Regions from separate parts of the Homo sapiens genome. Here region 1 is linked to region 2. Evidence: promoter capture Hi-C in human tissues and cell types (Jung and others, 2019). All regions are on one chromosome and are shown on one strand. Each heading gives the region's core, a stretch centred on a gene start or on the middle of the fragment in contact. The rest is flanking DNA. Distances are from core to core; before and after follow the strand shown.

Region 1 (7,566 bases), core at 1,827-4,326, 81 kb after region 2:
CCTGAAGAATCATTCCTTCCATTGAGTTTAGAAAGTTGAATTGGCCAGGTGCGGTGGCTCATGCCTGTAATCCCAGCACTTTGGGAGGCTGAGGCGGGAGGATCTCTTGAGGCCAGGAGTTTGAGAGCGGCCTGGGTGACACAGTGAGACTCCATCTCTAAAAGAAGTTTTTTAAATTTGGTTTGTTAAAAAACAATGATAGCAAAATATTGTTGAGAACAGAAAGAAGGTTTGAATAAACAAAAAATGTACCCATTCATGATAGCAAGATTCAAGTCTCCCAGATGAACTCTAAATTCAGTTCATCCTATGAATATCTTGGCAAATTTCTTTCTGAGGAACTTAACAAAGGAAGAGATGAGGCTGACACCACCTGAAAGGCCTCATGAGCGATTTCAGCAGAAGGCTGGGTATAGCCAGAAGAGCATCTTCCAGAGTGTAAAAATCAAGGATTAAAATATAGAGACAAATCTCTAAATTTAACATTTTATGTGGGAAGCGATTTGGGTCTTACACACAGACCAAGTAAGTGGTCTTCAATATGTCTGAAGAACAAAGAGGAGGTTGGAGGTGTTATAAAAAGGAGAAATGGTACATACTGTTTTTCAGAAAGTTCATTGGCACCAGTAAAATCTGGGGACGCTGGCCAGCTCTGACTGGTGAGTGACAGCCAGTGAAACTCATCTTAGAGTTGCAACGGGTGGTATCAGTACCTATCAGATAAGACTGGCTTTGGCTGAGTGTGGTGGCTCACGCCTGTAATCCCAGCACTTTGGGAGGCCAAGGCGGATGGATCACCTGAGGTCAGGAGTTCAAGACCAGCCTGACTAACATGGTGAAACCCCATCTCTACTAAATACAAAAAATTAGGCGGGCGTGGTGGCTCATGCCTGTAATCTCCCAGCTACTTAGGTGGCTGAGGCAGGAGAATTGCTTGAACCCAGGAGACGGAGGTTGCAGTGAGCTGAGGTCGCGCCGTTGCGCTCCAGCCTGGGCAACAAGAGCAAAAACTCCATCTCAAAAAAACAAAACAAAACAAAAAACTGGTTTCAGGTTGGAGCAGACAGCCTCAGCAGCCAGGCTGCAGAGAATGACATTCCTGGAGCTGTGTTATGTGCCACCCTCCTGCCCCCCACCTCTGGACTCTGTTTTATTTGGGTGTGACAAGAGTGACCCAATTCATATGGTCAACTGTCACAAGAGACAACCATCACAGACAACTTGTGCTGTGGGGACGCCTCTGGAGCCTGCCCCAGGCTTCCAGCTACACTTGGCATATTGACCACATGGGGGAGAGGGGGTCTCCTCTCCCTACCCACACCCCACCAGAATTCCTTGGCAGTTATTTTTATTTTTTAAATTTAATTCAATTTAATTTCTATTTATTTATTTATTTATTTTTGAGACACAGTCTCATTCTGTCACCCAGGCTAGAGTGCAGTGGCACGATCTGGGCTCACTGCAACCTCTGATTCCCAGGTTCAAGCGATTCTCCTGCCTTAGTCCCCCGAGTAGCTAGGATTACAGCTGTGCACCACCATGCCTGGCTAATTTCTGTATTTCTAGTAGAGTCAGGGTTTCACCGTGTTGGCCAGGCTGGTCTCGAACTCCTGACTTCAGGTGACCTGCCCACCTTGGCCTTCCAAAGTGCTGGGATTACAGGCATGAGCCATCGCATCTGGCCTATTTTTAAAAAGGGATAAATCCACAAGGACAAAGGGAATGAGGGGAGGTGACTGTGGGGAAGAGAGGCCAACATGCTTCTGTGGAGCGGAGAGTGGATGGAGGCAGTGGCCACTTCCACAGATCACAGTGTGGCTGGCAGGGGGAAACCTGAGGAGAAGCAGCCACTGTGCCCCCAGGATCCCCAGGGGTCAGCACTCAGATGCTGCGGATCGCCACAGATCACGAGAGAGGCCTGAAAATCAGGGCTTGCCTGGAAGTCTAGCTCCCAGCATTTGTAACCCTCAGGCCCCTCCCTGATTTCTGCATCTAGGGACCACCGCTTCACCCCGTCCAAATGGAAATTTGAGGGGCAGGGGTTCATTTTTTAAGAAATTGAAAAGAGAACCCCAGCCTTGGGAAAGCAGGCAGAGTGGAGGGCAAAAATTTGGTACAGGGCCAAAAATAGACGGGAACGTCCACAGTTCCTGCCGCAGGACCCTGGCTTCCTTCCTGACTGGCTACCCGGCGCACGCAATGGGGTTTCTCCCATCCCCACCACCCCCAGGAAGGAGATTAGAAGATCCTGTGCTAGAGAAATGGAAATGCTTCAGGGAAAAGATCTCTTCTCTCTGGCTACAGACATTAGGGGACCCCTCCCCAGTGGAAGAGCAGCTGGGCCCAAAATCACCCAACAGGGAGAAGTCCACCCATTGATAAGCCCTATCTGGGCACTCAGGCTTCCAGGAATCCCCAGACCTGAGGAACAGCCCTCACATGGAAGACAATGTTTAAAACAACAGGAGAAAGGAACGCCAGGCAAAGAACAGGAGAGAACTTAGAAGTTTGTTTTAAGAACAACACAACCCTCAAGGGCTCCTTGGAGTAATGACTGACTCCAGGTCTGCAGCGGAGAATGTATGACATGTGCCAGGAAGCAGAGGGGTGTGCGGGACTCGAGGGTCTCATCCAGGGACTCGGTGCCATCTGGAAAGGACTCAGCGGCCAGAGTCCAGCGGGCTCACTGGCATCACACAGGTAACAGCTTCAGTGGACATGTAGAAAGCCACGATGACCCACACCCCGCCCAGGAAGGAGGAAGGTGGGAGGAGGAGAAGAAAAGAGAGGAGGAAGAGGAAGAGGAGAGAAAGAAGAAAGGGAAGAAAGTTTCTGCCTGTTGGGGTTTAAATCCTCCTTACCTTAACCACATTAAGGGTCCTTTAACCACCTTAAGGGTCCCTTAACCGTCTCATATCCAGACTCTAGTTTTTTTTTTTTGTTTGTTTTTTGAAATGGAGTCTTACTCTGTTGCCCAGGCTGGAGTGCAGTGGCACGATTTAGGCTCACTGCAAAATCTGCCTCCTGGATTCAAGCAATTCTCCTGCCTCAGCCTCCCAAGTAGCGGGGATTATAGCCACCCGCCACCACACCAGCTAATTTTGTATTTTTAGTAGAGACGGGGTTTCACCATGTTGGTCAGACTGGTCTCGAACTCCTGACCTCAGGTGATCCACCTGCCTCGGCCTCCCAAAGTGCTGGGATTACAGGCATGAGCCACCACGCCAGGCCCAGACTCTAGTTTTTACATCAGTCATAACATTTCAAATTTCTATATTTTGGTGTTCTGAGTCGTTCAGTGAATACTGCATCATAAGCATTTTTAAATGTTATATTGTTTTCATGACTCTTTCAGAGTTTCTTTCAGAGCTAACATAATATATACTTCTTACAGAAAACTGTAAAGTTTAGACCAGGCCCAGTGGCTCATGGCTGGAACCCAGCACTGTGGGAGACTGAGGTGAAAGGATCACTCGAGCCCTGGAGTTCAAGACCAGCCTGGGCAACATAGCAAGACCCCATCTCTACAGAAAATATAAAAATTAGCCAGGTGTGGTGGCGCACACCTGTGGCCCCAGCTACTCGGGAGGCTGAGGTGGGAGGATGGCTTGATCCCGGGAGGCGGAGGTGGCAGTGAGCTGAGATGGTGCCACTGCACTCCAGTTTGGGTGACAGAGCTAGACCCTGTTTCAAAAAAAAAAAAATTTCCTTCAGGGAGATCCCTATAAGGGGTGTTATTTTCAGAAATGTTCATTTAGAATTATGTCCATGTTGTTGAATCTAATCCTGATTATGTGGTAGCTGTCGCTGCAGCCACCGTCTCACCCTCAAATACCCAATGTCCACTCTCAGGATTTCCAGGGTTAAGGCCCAGTCCCTGGAGCCCAGATGCACAGGGTTCTAATCTTACCTCTGCCACTGACTAGATGTGCAATTTGAGGCAAAGCACCTAAACTGTCTTATGAATTCTTGTACAATGCTGAGAACAATACAAGTTTACAGAAACCTCGCAATAAATACCAGCCCCCATCACCTTGGGTGGCTGTAGCCGCCGATCTGATAGAAGTTTGAAGATTCTAGACGTGGAAATTGAGCAGCCTTCAGCCGTACATCTACTCACACCTGACAATGCACCATATTTGGCATCTATATGTGAATTTATGTCTTTTCTGCCCAGAGAGTCTACAGCGTCAAGTTGGTCAAGGATCAAGAAGAGATCAAGGACCATATTAGGCCTTAGACAAGGTAACATGAAGAAAATCAACAACAACAACAAAAACATGATTAGGGATGACAAGCTTGCATGTTTCCAGGCAGAGTAGCGCTTCGATGATGAAAGTGCCCTGGGGAGAGTGTCTGGGTGTCAGGGTGATGCAGGGGTCCTGCTGACTCCATTCATGGCTGACTCCATTCATGGCGCTGTCTCTGGCTATGGGATGGAGTCTGAGCCTTGCTGAGGAGCAAGCCATGAGCCTTTTTTTTTTTTTTGAGACGGAGTCTCGCTCTGTCACCAAGGCTAAAGTGCAGTGGTACGATCTCGGCTCACTGCAAGCTCCGTCCCCCGGATTTATGCCATTCTCTTGCCTCAGCCTCCCAAGTAGCTGGGACTACAGGTGCCCGTCACCAGGCCTGGCTAATTTTTTTGTATTTTTTTTTTTAGTAGAGACGGGGTTTCACCATGTTAGCCAGGATGGTCTCGATCTCCTGACCTCGTGATCTGCCCGCCTCAGCCTTCCAAAGTGCTGGGATTACAGGCGTGAGCCACTGCGCCCAGCCGCTGTGAGCCCGTTGACCTTGAAGTCTGCAGATGAAGTTGGCACTTGTAGAAAGGAAGGAAAAGACACTTGACCAAGACATAAATGGATAACATCCTTCAGGCCAATGGAAGAAACCAAAAATTCTAGGATGTCAGGGCCTGACCCTGGGCCATGCTTGTGCAGTGAGCAGGCTGTGTTGACCAGAGTTCCTCGGTCATGTGCACACAATGAGGATCCCCCTGGGGATCTTCTTAAAATTCAGATTCTGACTCAGGAGGTCTGGGGTAGAGGCTGAGGTTCTGCATTTTTGTATAGGCTCCTAGGTGATACCCACGCTGCTGGCCCACGGACCACAAGTGGAGCAAGGCAGGAGCAGACAGGCCCTACTCACCCGGCTCCAGGGAGCTCCCTCGGGGCCACCTGGCCACACTCTTCCCTCTCCCGGCCTCCTCTGCCATGTGCTGGCTTCTCAATGGGCCACACCTCTCCTGCTTGCCACCAACCAGCACAGACTGTGGAGCTTCCTGGCAGAGTGAAGGGCCAGAATACAGCAGACCCAACTGTTGTGCTAAGAAACAAATCTTTTTTTTTTTTTTTTTTTTTGAGAGAGTCTCACTCTGTCGCCCGGGCTGGAGTGCAGTGGCGCCATCTTGGCTCACTGCAAGCTCCGCCTCCCGGGTTCACGCCATTCTCCTGCCTCAGCCTCCCGAGTAGCTGGGACTACAGGCGCCTGCCACCACGCCCAGCTAATTTTTTGTGTTTTTAGTAGAGACGGGGTTTCACCGTGTTAGCCAGGATGGTCTCAATCTCCTGACCTTGTGATCCGCCCACCTCGGCCTCCCAAAGTGCTGGGATTACAGGGGTGAGCCACCTCACCCAGCCGAAACAAATCTTTTAAAATCTGATATGAAAGGGAAACCTCCTTGCCCAAGTGTGGCAAGGACAGGACCAGATCCCAGGAGCCTAGGTGGGGATGAGCCCGACCCACCACGGCCTCCGTAGCCAGAGCTGTAGACAGGGTTGCTTGCAGTGGGCCGCACCGTGGCCCGCTGAAAGCACACAGTGGACACGAGCTGAGTCCACAGCTTTCTCTGAGCTGGGACTTAGCCCTCCAGTGGGGAACCATGGTCAGCGGCTGCAACCCCTGGGCAAGATGGGGCCTGGCCTCCTGCCCTCTGCAGGGTCATAGGAGTGTCTGGGAGCTCAGGGTCAGGGCCAGATGGCTGTTCCTGGGGCCTGGGGCTCCAGCTCAGGATGTTTGGGAACAGGAACTCTTGGCTTGGAGAAGCCCATTACACCACAGGAGGCCTGAGATGGTCGGTCTGCGGGGAGCAGCTCAGACTGGGGGTGGCAGAGCAGCGTGTGGCTGTGTGTGGCCAGGTCAGGGGAGAGTGGCCAATGCTGGGCCCTCTCTAAGGAGCCCGAGGGCCACAAGGACCGTGGAAGAGGTCTTGAGTGAGGGAGTCGGGACCTTGTGGCTAGGGGTCTTGCTTGAGGATGCTCTCTGCAGCCACAAGGAGATGCCCAGGCAGGACCAGGTCAGGAAGAGGCTGGGGCAGAGGCCCAGGCAGGAGGTGGGTGGGCTGGGTGGGGATGGGAGTAGCCAGGGTGAAGGTGAGGACAGGGAAGGGGCCCCCCTGCCTCCTGGCTTCCCTGAGGGCGGGGCTGGCCAATCCCAGCGGCAAATGTGTGCAGGGAGGAGTGGGGTCCAGGTTGGAGCTTTGGGAGCCCTTGGAGGCAGCAAGGCAGACTCACCTCTGGGACCCAGCACCCAGCTTGGGCGTGCAGGTGGGGGCTCAGAAGTGAACATCGTGGGGCTTTGAGCAAGACTCTCTGGGATCCAGTCTCAGCTTCCATACTTTGAAGTCAAGGAGTGGACCTGTGCTGTCTGTTTGCTCTGGGGTCTGGGCAGTCCTGTTGTTTGGGTAGAGGCCTCAGAGGGCCCTAGGGACAGACTGACCCAGGTCTGAGCCTCTTGGGAGCGTGCGGATGGCCGGGCTCAGACAGGCCTGGTTATGGGTTTGACTTACAAGGGGCACACGCGCACTCTGGTGCTTCCTGGCATTCAGAAGAGAAGAGGGAGTTCAGACATCAGGCCTTCCTTCTCCCTGGGAAGGATGGCAGGTGCCTGGAGCCAGGCCTGTCTTGAGAGCCAGGGCTCTGGGTCTTCCTCCTCCAGTGCCCTGTTCCAGGCCTTCAGTGCATAAAGCACTCCCCTCCTGGGGTCTCTTCAGGGCTCCCCGGGATGCAAATGGGACAGGGAATAGGATCCCAGGTTTGAGGAAACCAAGGCCCAGAGAGGAGAAGTGACCTGCCCAGAACCACAGGACAGTCAGGGCACACCTAGGTTTCAACGGCAGGCTGCTATGAGCCCCATCATGTCAGTTTGTCTCAGGCTTGGCAAGGTGGTGCAGCACTGCTAGGCCCCCCTCTTCTTCCTCAGGGTGACCAACCAGCAGCCCTGCTGTTTAAGAGTCCCTTTCGGCAGAAAACCCCTTATTTGAGTGACCAGGAATAGACCCCTGATTATATTGGTGGGCAGGCTATGGATTTCATGGGCTTCCCAGTGCCAGAGACCTGATTCAGGCACTTCTCTAAGCTGAGCATCTACTGTGTGCCTGGTAACATCTCTGTGCTGGTCACATCACAGAAGCAAGAGCCCCTCATGGTGTTCTTAAGTCCTAACTCGGAATAACAACAGGTCAGAGCCCCCCAAAGCCCAGGCACAGGCCCTGAGCCCCTGGACACTGGCGTTTGTGTCTGAGAGGGGGTGAGAACACTTCTCTGTAGGAAATGTCTTCAGCCCAGG
Region 2 (7,741 bases), core at 2,672-5,171:
ACCTAGTGCTGTAATCATCATCATAAATTCATTTTAGAACATTTTCATCCCCCTAATAAGACTTCATGCACATTTATAATTAATCTCTGTTCCAACTCCCAGTCCTAGGCAACCATATCTACTTTGTTTCTAAAAATTGGCCTTTTCTAGACATTTCCTATAAATTGAGTCAGACACTGTGTTCTGGCTTTGTGACTGGTTTCTTTCACCTACCGTTATGTTTCCAAGGTTTATTTATGTTGAGGCATGTGTCAGTATTTCATTCCTTTTCATGACTGAATAATATTCTATTGTATGGACAGACCACAGTTTGCCTATCCATTCATCAGTTAATGGGCATTTGGCTTGGGCATTTAGACATTTATGAACAACGTTGCTATGAACATTCCCACACAAGTCTTTGTGTGGATGTGTTTTCATCTCTCTTGGGTCGATATCTAGGAGTGGAAGAGTTGGGTCGTATGGTCATTTTGTGATTAACTTCTTGAGAAACTGCCAAACTATCTTCCACAGGGGCTGCATCATTTTGTGTTCCCATCAACAACATGAAGTTTCCTGTTTCTCCAAATTCTTGACAAGATTTATTGCCTGTTTTATTCACTACAGCTATTCTCATGAGTATAATATAGTATTTCATCATAGTTTTCATGTGCATTTCCCTAACAAGAATACTGAGATTGTTTTATGCACATGTTGGCTATTTATACAACTTCTTTGGTGAAATGTCTGTTTGTATCTTCACCCACTTTTTGATTGGATTGTTTGTCTTCTTGTTACTGAGTTGTTAAGAGTTCATTGTAAATTCGGAATATAAGTCCTTTACTGGGCATATGTTTTACAAATATTTTCTCCTAGTCTCTTGTTCGTCATATTTTCTTAATAGTGTCTTTTGAAGTGCAAATGTTTTGAACTTTGATGAAGGTCCGATTCATCATTTTTTTCTTTTTTGGATCATGCATTTGGTGTCGTATCTAAGAAATCTTTGACTAACAACAGGCCTATTTTTAATAGAAGTAAAGCTTGGTGTCTGAACACTAAGCAAATCTACTAACCAAGACCCCTAAAAACCCAAAAGCTTTATGACACTGAAAATAATGGCCCAAGGACATTCCCAGACAGTTCTGGGCTCTGGATAGAACAACACAAGTTTCCAAAAAACAGGCTGATAATACCACAAGCTTATAAAATATGTATACTCCTTGGCCCAGTAATAAATCACTCAAGATATGGCACAAACTGTTCACAGTATGGTTTTTGCGGAGAAAAGCTGAAAACCACCTCAGTGGGCATCTGTGGGGGATGACAAAGCACCTTATAGTTCATCCCCAGGGAGCACAGAGCAGCCTCTGGAGCAGTGTCTGCAAAGAAACCACAGCCAAGCTGTTTACAAAGCTCAGTTCCTGTGCAAAGAAAGATCCCAATGGCGCCCTTTCCACTGTGCTTTTCATGTCAAGTTGAATGAGCTACGATTTGCACACTGTAAAATTCAGATGTACACAGTCATGCAACCACTACACCATGAAGATAGAGTATTTCAATCACTCCAAAAAGTTCTTTCATGCCCAAATACATAGAAAAGTCTGGAAATAAATACATCAGAAATACACAGTGATCCTCTCTTGGTGGCAGAATGGTGGATGATTTTTGCTTTTTAGCATTTTCCCGGACCTTTAAAAGACACTTTAAACAATATACTATTTGAAATGGCTCAAACAATACTGAACTGACTTCAGAAAATCATTTCTTTGCCACAGCCCTGACTCTCTCCCACACAGACACACGCCCATCCCCCCAGCTCATACAAAAGAACGCAAGGAGACCTCTGAGTTTGCTCACTTTGAACCTTAAACAAAAACCTTGTGGATGCAACCAGAATTATTTCAGAGGTGCCTGGTAACACCGCAGGGCAGACAGACAGGCCTGACAGCAAACCATTATCAACCCTTACTTCCCTGAGCTGTAGGGGAGTGGAGGCCGGCAACGGCTCCCAGCAAGACATTTAAAAGCTTTCTTTTCAATATTGACTGGCCCAGGAAAGCTACTGTTCAAAGGATTCCTTCACCAGCTGCAGGGATGGGGGGTGGGGAGGGTGTTGCACTCTTGCCTGGGCTACCAGCTCTTAGGGCTGACATGAAATAAAATCAGGTTCTTTTTTTTTTTTTTTTTTTTTTTTTGAGACGGAGTCTCGCTCTGTCGCCCAGGCTGGAGTGCAATGGCAGGATCTCAGCTTACTGCAACCTCCGCCTCCCAGGTTCAAGCGATTCATCTGCCTCAGCCTCCCAAGTAACTGGGATTACAGGCGCCTGCCACCACGCCCAGCTAACTTTTGGTATTTTTAGTAGAGATGGGGGTGGTTCACTATGTTGTCCAGGCTGTTCTCGAACTCTTGACCTCAGGCAATCCACCCGCCTCGGCCTCCCAAAGTGGTGGGATTACAGGCGTGAGCCACCGCGACCGGCCAAGAAAAAGAAACACATGAGAACATCTTAACAAAAGGGAAATACTGCAGTGTCTCCCATCTGCAGAAAGAACCACTGAATCCACTTATGAATCCCTCCATCTTCTTCTGTGCACTCACATACACATGTCCTAGTAGAAAATACTTAGTATTGTTTTGTGTGTTTTTGTTCTTGTTATGTAAGCATCAGTGTTGTGCATAATCAGCTTGTGGCTTGCTGTGTCCGCTCATCCTCGTTTGCTGAGTCCTAGCTGATTTGATGGACACCAGGTTGTCTCCAGTTTCTCACTGTAATAAACAATGATGCAGTGAACATCCTGTGCACAGTGGCTTTCGAAGGTAGAAGCCAAGAAGTGGACGTGATGTAAAAACTTTGTCAAATTGCCATTACTTTTATAATTAAAAACAAACCTAAAAGAATATGTCCAAAATGCTTGGGGAGAAGCCTCTAACTCCTTCCCAGCAGATATGTACTCTGGGCAAAGCCTTCAAGAACAAGTACGAATTTGCCAAATGGACAACGTGCTGATTCTGGGATACTGTGGCAGAGGAGACAGAATGCTATCGCTTTTCAAACGGCAAGATTTTACATTTAAACTCACAGAGTTATCCACAAGGCAAGATTCTGTCTCTGTCATAGCTAGGAACAGCTGAAGAGTCTGCCTCTTGCTCCAACATGGCTGGGTACCGTGGCTGGATAACCGTTCCCGGTGCAGGTAACAGGTGGACAATATCACAATATCACTGCACCCCTCTCGTGAAAAAGAAAGGGAACACAGTCTAGCACTCACCAGAGAAGCAGGTTTTTCTTCATCTTCCAGAAATGTGTTCTAAAACACCAGAAAAAAACATCAGCCAATCATCGACCTGTTAACCTAACCCCAGCTCAAGAGATGGAACTCGGATCCCATTGCCAAGTCAGCACCGGCAGGCACAAAGGTGGCAGGGCCGGGAGACACCACTTTCCCGAGAGTCCTATCCCCACCCCCAACAGGGATCGGGAGAGAGCAGTTAGCACAGGGCTCGTCTCAGATGGGCTTCTCACCAGCGGGGTGCCCCTAACCTAGACCCCTTGCCTCTCCAAGCCTGTTTCCCTCTCTTTCCCAGTTACTACTTGGGGCTCTTTGCACGGTCTATGGTGGCACAAGAAGTGGGTTCGGAAACCCAGTAGCTGAATTGAAGCGGAGGGGAGGCTTTTCCGCACCTACGGCTACAGGGCGGCGAGAGCAGGCTTGCCAGGCAACCCTCGAAAGGCCTTCCGGGAAGAGGGGGAAGAGTGACGCTTGGGTGTGGGGGCACATCCCCAGCAACCGGACGAGGCCGCCACCCCCAAGGCCCTCCTGGGCTTCGGATCCCGCGCCAACCCCTCGCCCAGGTCTCGGAGCGAACTCTCCGCGCCAGGCGGGCGGGGCGGAGGGAGGAGGGAGTTGAGAGTGGACGGCCGGGAGTGGGAGGAAAAGCGCAGACGCCAGGAACGCCCCGTGAGTGAGGAGAGGAGAGCGTGGGAGTCACGCGGAGAAGCCAGACCCAGACGCCGACCGGGCACTGGTGGCGCTGCCGGGGTCCCGGGGGTTCCTGGACCCCCTACCCCAGGCCCCTCCAAAGCAACTGGGGTAAACCAGACGCACTGTGAGGCCAGCGCAGCTGCTGGACACGGTCCCCGGCGCCGCTCCAACCAGACCGCGACCGCTAAGCCCCTCCTTTCGAGAAACTCTGGGGCCGCCCCTGGAAGTGGCGGGGCGAAGGGACCGGAGGAGGGACCGGAGGAGCGAGGCGCGCGGCGCAGCGATGGAGCCGGTCAGCACGGGCGCGGAGGCCGGCATGGAGGGCGCGGGAGGTGACCCGTACCGGCGACCTGCGCGGCGCACGCAGTGGCTGCTGAGCGCCCTGGCGCACCACTACGGGCTGGACCGCGGCGTGGAGAACGAGATCGTGGTGCTGGCCACCGGCCTGGACCAGTACCTGCAGGAGGTCTTCCACCACCTGGACTGCCGCGGCGCCGGCCGTCTGCCCCGCGCCGACTTCCGAGCGCTCTGCGCTGTGCTGGGGCTGCGCGCGGAGGGGGCCACCACGGCCGGGCAGGCAGCAGGTGACGGGAACTCCAGAGATGTGACCCCCGGGGATGCGGCCGCTGAGTTGGCCACGGACGGGGACTCAGATACCGATGAAGAGGCGCGCCTGGCGCTGCGCGCCGAGCCGCCGGAGCTCACCTTCCGCCAGTTCCACGCGCGCCTCTGTGGCTACTTCGGCACCCGTGCGGGGCCCCGGCTGCCCCGCGGCGCTCTCAGCGAGCACATCGAGACGCAGATCCGCCTGCGCCGTCCGCGCCGCCGCCGCCGCCCGCCCTGCGCGCCTGGCCCCGACAGCGGTCCTGACTGTGAGCGCGTTGCGCGGCTGGAGGAGGAGAATAGCAGCTTGCGCGAGTTGGTGGAGGACCTGCGCGCCGCGCTGCAGAGCAGTGATGCGCGCTGCCTAGCACTGCAGGTGCGCGCCGGCCACGAAGGGAGGGTGGTAACGCCCGGGAGAGGGCTCGAACTAAAAGCTGGCTGGCTGCGGAGCCCGACAGGACAGAGTCAGAGGAAGGGGAGACAGAGGGCAGCCCCACACCATCCCACTCCGCATCAGCACACTTGCATCTTGCCCCTGTTCCTCCCCATTCCACTCCAGTCCCCAACCCTATTCTTACCACCTATTCCATTCCTGAAAACCCCAATCACACTCAAACAACCATACCCCACTTTTCTGCTCCACCGCCACATCATCGCGTCTTGCCCCTTTAACCTAGGAATTGCACCTGTCTGGGTAGTCTCACATATTCCCTTTCAACAAGCATCTTTCTCTCTCCTTCCTGCCAGGCTTCTGGGAGGTTTAGGAGACAGAAGTGTGAAGAAGGCCCTGTCCTCACCTTTAGGGATATCCCTGCCTCCTGGGGTAGACTGACAGCTCCTTCTGTCAATCAGCAAAGACTTATGGGGCTCCCTGTGGGAGAAACAGAGACAAGTGAGAAACAGACAATGTGGCTCACACTGTGGATCAGGCACTCACGGGCCACCAAGTGCCTGCGGGAACCAGACCCGCTCTGGGCTATTGAGAAGAAACCATGGGGTGAGATAGGGACCCAGCCTTAGCATCTGGGAGCCGTCGACAAACACTTAAGCACTGTGCCAGCCGAGCACCAAGGGCAGTGCTGGGCCGCAGGGGTCAGAGGAGGAAAGGAACAGCCCCTACCCCAGGCGACAACAGGCCAGGAAGAAACTGACATTATATGACCCCGCCTTAGCTCAGGACACTGCAGAGTGCAGGGAAGTGGCAAGGTGTGGTTTTCAGTGTCAGTGTGCATGGAAGCCAGGGTGGAGGCGGGAAACTACTCCTCTGATGTGGAATCCCAAGTAACGTACTGGGAGCCATGGGATGCGCCTGAACGGTCTTCCGGCATCTCTCATGCTTGGTATTTATTGAGCACCTACTATGTGCCAGGTTTGTTTTAGGCTCTGGGAACACACCAGTAAAGACAGATAGAAACCACCCTCAAAAGCCTCTAGTGAGCAGGCACGGGGAGGGCTGGAAATGCCACTGGGGGGAGTCTAGGAGATGAGGAACCGCCACCCGGCAGGCTGAACGCCGCCAATACAGTAGGCCGAGAAGAGTCGCGAGGTTGGTACTATAGAGGGAACAGAATACAGGCGTCGTGTCTCAGTTTCCTTCAGTGAAAAAACGTTGGGGGGTGGGGGATGAGGAGGAATCAGAGCTTGGGCCTCCCTGGGGATGTGGCGAGGGTTAAAGGAGCTTGGACGCACCGGACCTAAGGGCCTGGCACCCGGAAGCAGACGGCGCAAGAAACGTGCTCAAGCGCTTCTGGGTGCAGAGGCATGGGGCCGCCGTCGTGGCGGGCGTTCGTCTGGTGCATCTGGCTGGGGCACTTACCCCCTGCCCCTGCTGCCCTGTCCCCGCAGGTCGGACTCTGGAAGAGCCAGGCGAGCACCCACGAGATGGGGCACGGCGGGCCGGAGGCTGCGGTGCGGGAGCTGCGTCAGGCGCAGGGCGCCCTGGCTGCGGCGGAGGCCCGCGCTGGGCGGCTGCGCCGTGGCCAGGCCGAGGTGCGGCGGCGCGCGGAGGAGGCCCGGCAGGTGGTGCTGCGCAGCCTGCACCGCGTGCGAGAGCTGGAGGCGCTGGCGCAACAGGTGCCCGGCTTGCAGCGCTGGGTGCGGCGGCTGGAGGCGGAGCTGCAACGCTACAGGTGAGCGGGGGCGCGTGCCCTGGGCCCAAGTTCCCCAATTCGGCTCCCATTTTCCCAAACTTCGGGTGTGCAATCCCCCTCCCACGCGCTCTCGTGTTCCGCAGTTTCTCCATGCGTTTATTCATGTATTCTTTCATTCCTTTGTCAGTTCTCCATTTCTTAAGTTATAAGTCTGCTCCATTGCTTGCTCTGCAACCATCTGCCCACCCATCCATTTATCCATCCATCTGTCCATCCATTCACCCACCCCACACACCCACCCATCCATCCATCCATTTGTCCATTCACTCACCCCCCCCACCCACCCATCCATCCACTCACCCATCCATCCACTCACCCATTCATCCATCCACCTATCCACTCACCTACCCACCCGTCCATCCATCTATTCATCCATCCACTCACTCACCCACCCATCCACTCACCCACCCACCCATCCATCATCCATCCATCCCCCCACCCACCCAGCCAGCCAGCCGTCCATCCATCCTCCTGTTCATCCACAAACACCCTCTATTTGTTTATCATAGATTGCAGTTGAATGTGCTCATTCTTATTTGTTCCTGGATTCGATCATAATGATAATAGCTTACAGTTACTAAGCACTCGCTGTTTGCCAGGCCTTGAGCTAAGTACTTTATGTGGCTTAACTCATTTAAGCCTCACAGCTGCCCTGTGAGGTGGGTACTGCTATGTTTCCACTCTGTAGATGAGGAAACAGGTGTGTAATGACTGCCTGTGCTAGCTCCACCAGGGCAGGAAGCTGGACTTGGGACCCAGGTTCAAATCTTGGCAGGGCTTTTGGCAGACGTGTGAGTGTGGGCAAGTCACCACCCCTCACAGACCCTGCTTCCTCTTGGGTGGAACACAGATTGGGGTCCCTGCCTGTGGGAGTGGCTGTGAAGAGGCCATGAGGTCCTGCCTGGCACATGGTAGATGCTTGGTAGACAGAGCCTCTCTCCCTTTCAAATCACAAGTCACCCCTGCCTGCTGGCCGGCCTGACTACACATTTGCTGAGCACTTTCTGTGTGCCAGGGGCCATCCC

The links. Contacts are between HindIII fragments. The study calls those that stand out against the background at their distance.
Region 1: a contact is called between a fragment that was not itself captured here and the fragment with the promoter of EFCC1 in region 2, in 2 of the 25 tissues and cell types used here (H1 embryonic stem cells and adrenal gland).

Annotation. Positions count from the first base shown.
Region 1 is chr3:129,079,558-129,087,123 of GRCh38, forward strand. No RefSeq gene overlaps it. Among named protein-coding and RNA genes, the nearest start is that of GP9, 23 kb to the left of the region's middle. The HindIII fragment of the contact is 5,949 bases long and covers 103-6,051 here.
Region 2 is chr3:128,997,383-129,005,123 of GRCh38, forward strand. It overlaps EFCC1 (EF-hand and coiled-coil domain containing 1), which reads left to right and starts at 3,922. Exons shown (of 8, transcript NM_001377500.1): 1 at 3,922-4,942; 2 at 6,412-6,695. The coding sequence starts at 4,247. It also overlaps a transcript of CFAP92 not described here. The HindIII fragment of the contact is 14,506 bases long and covers 1,593-7,741 here.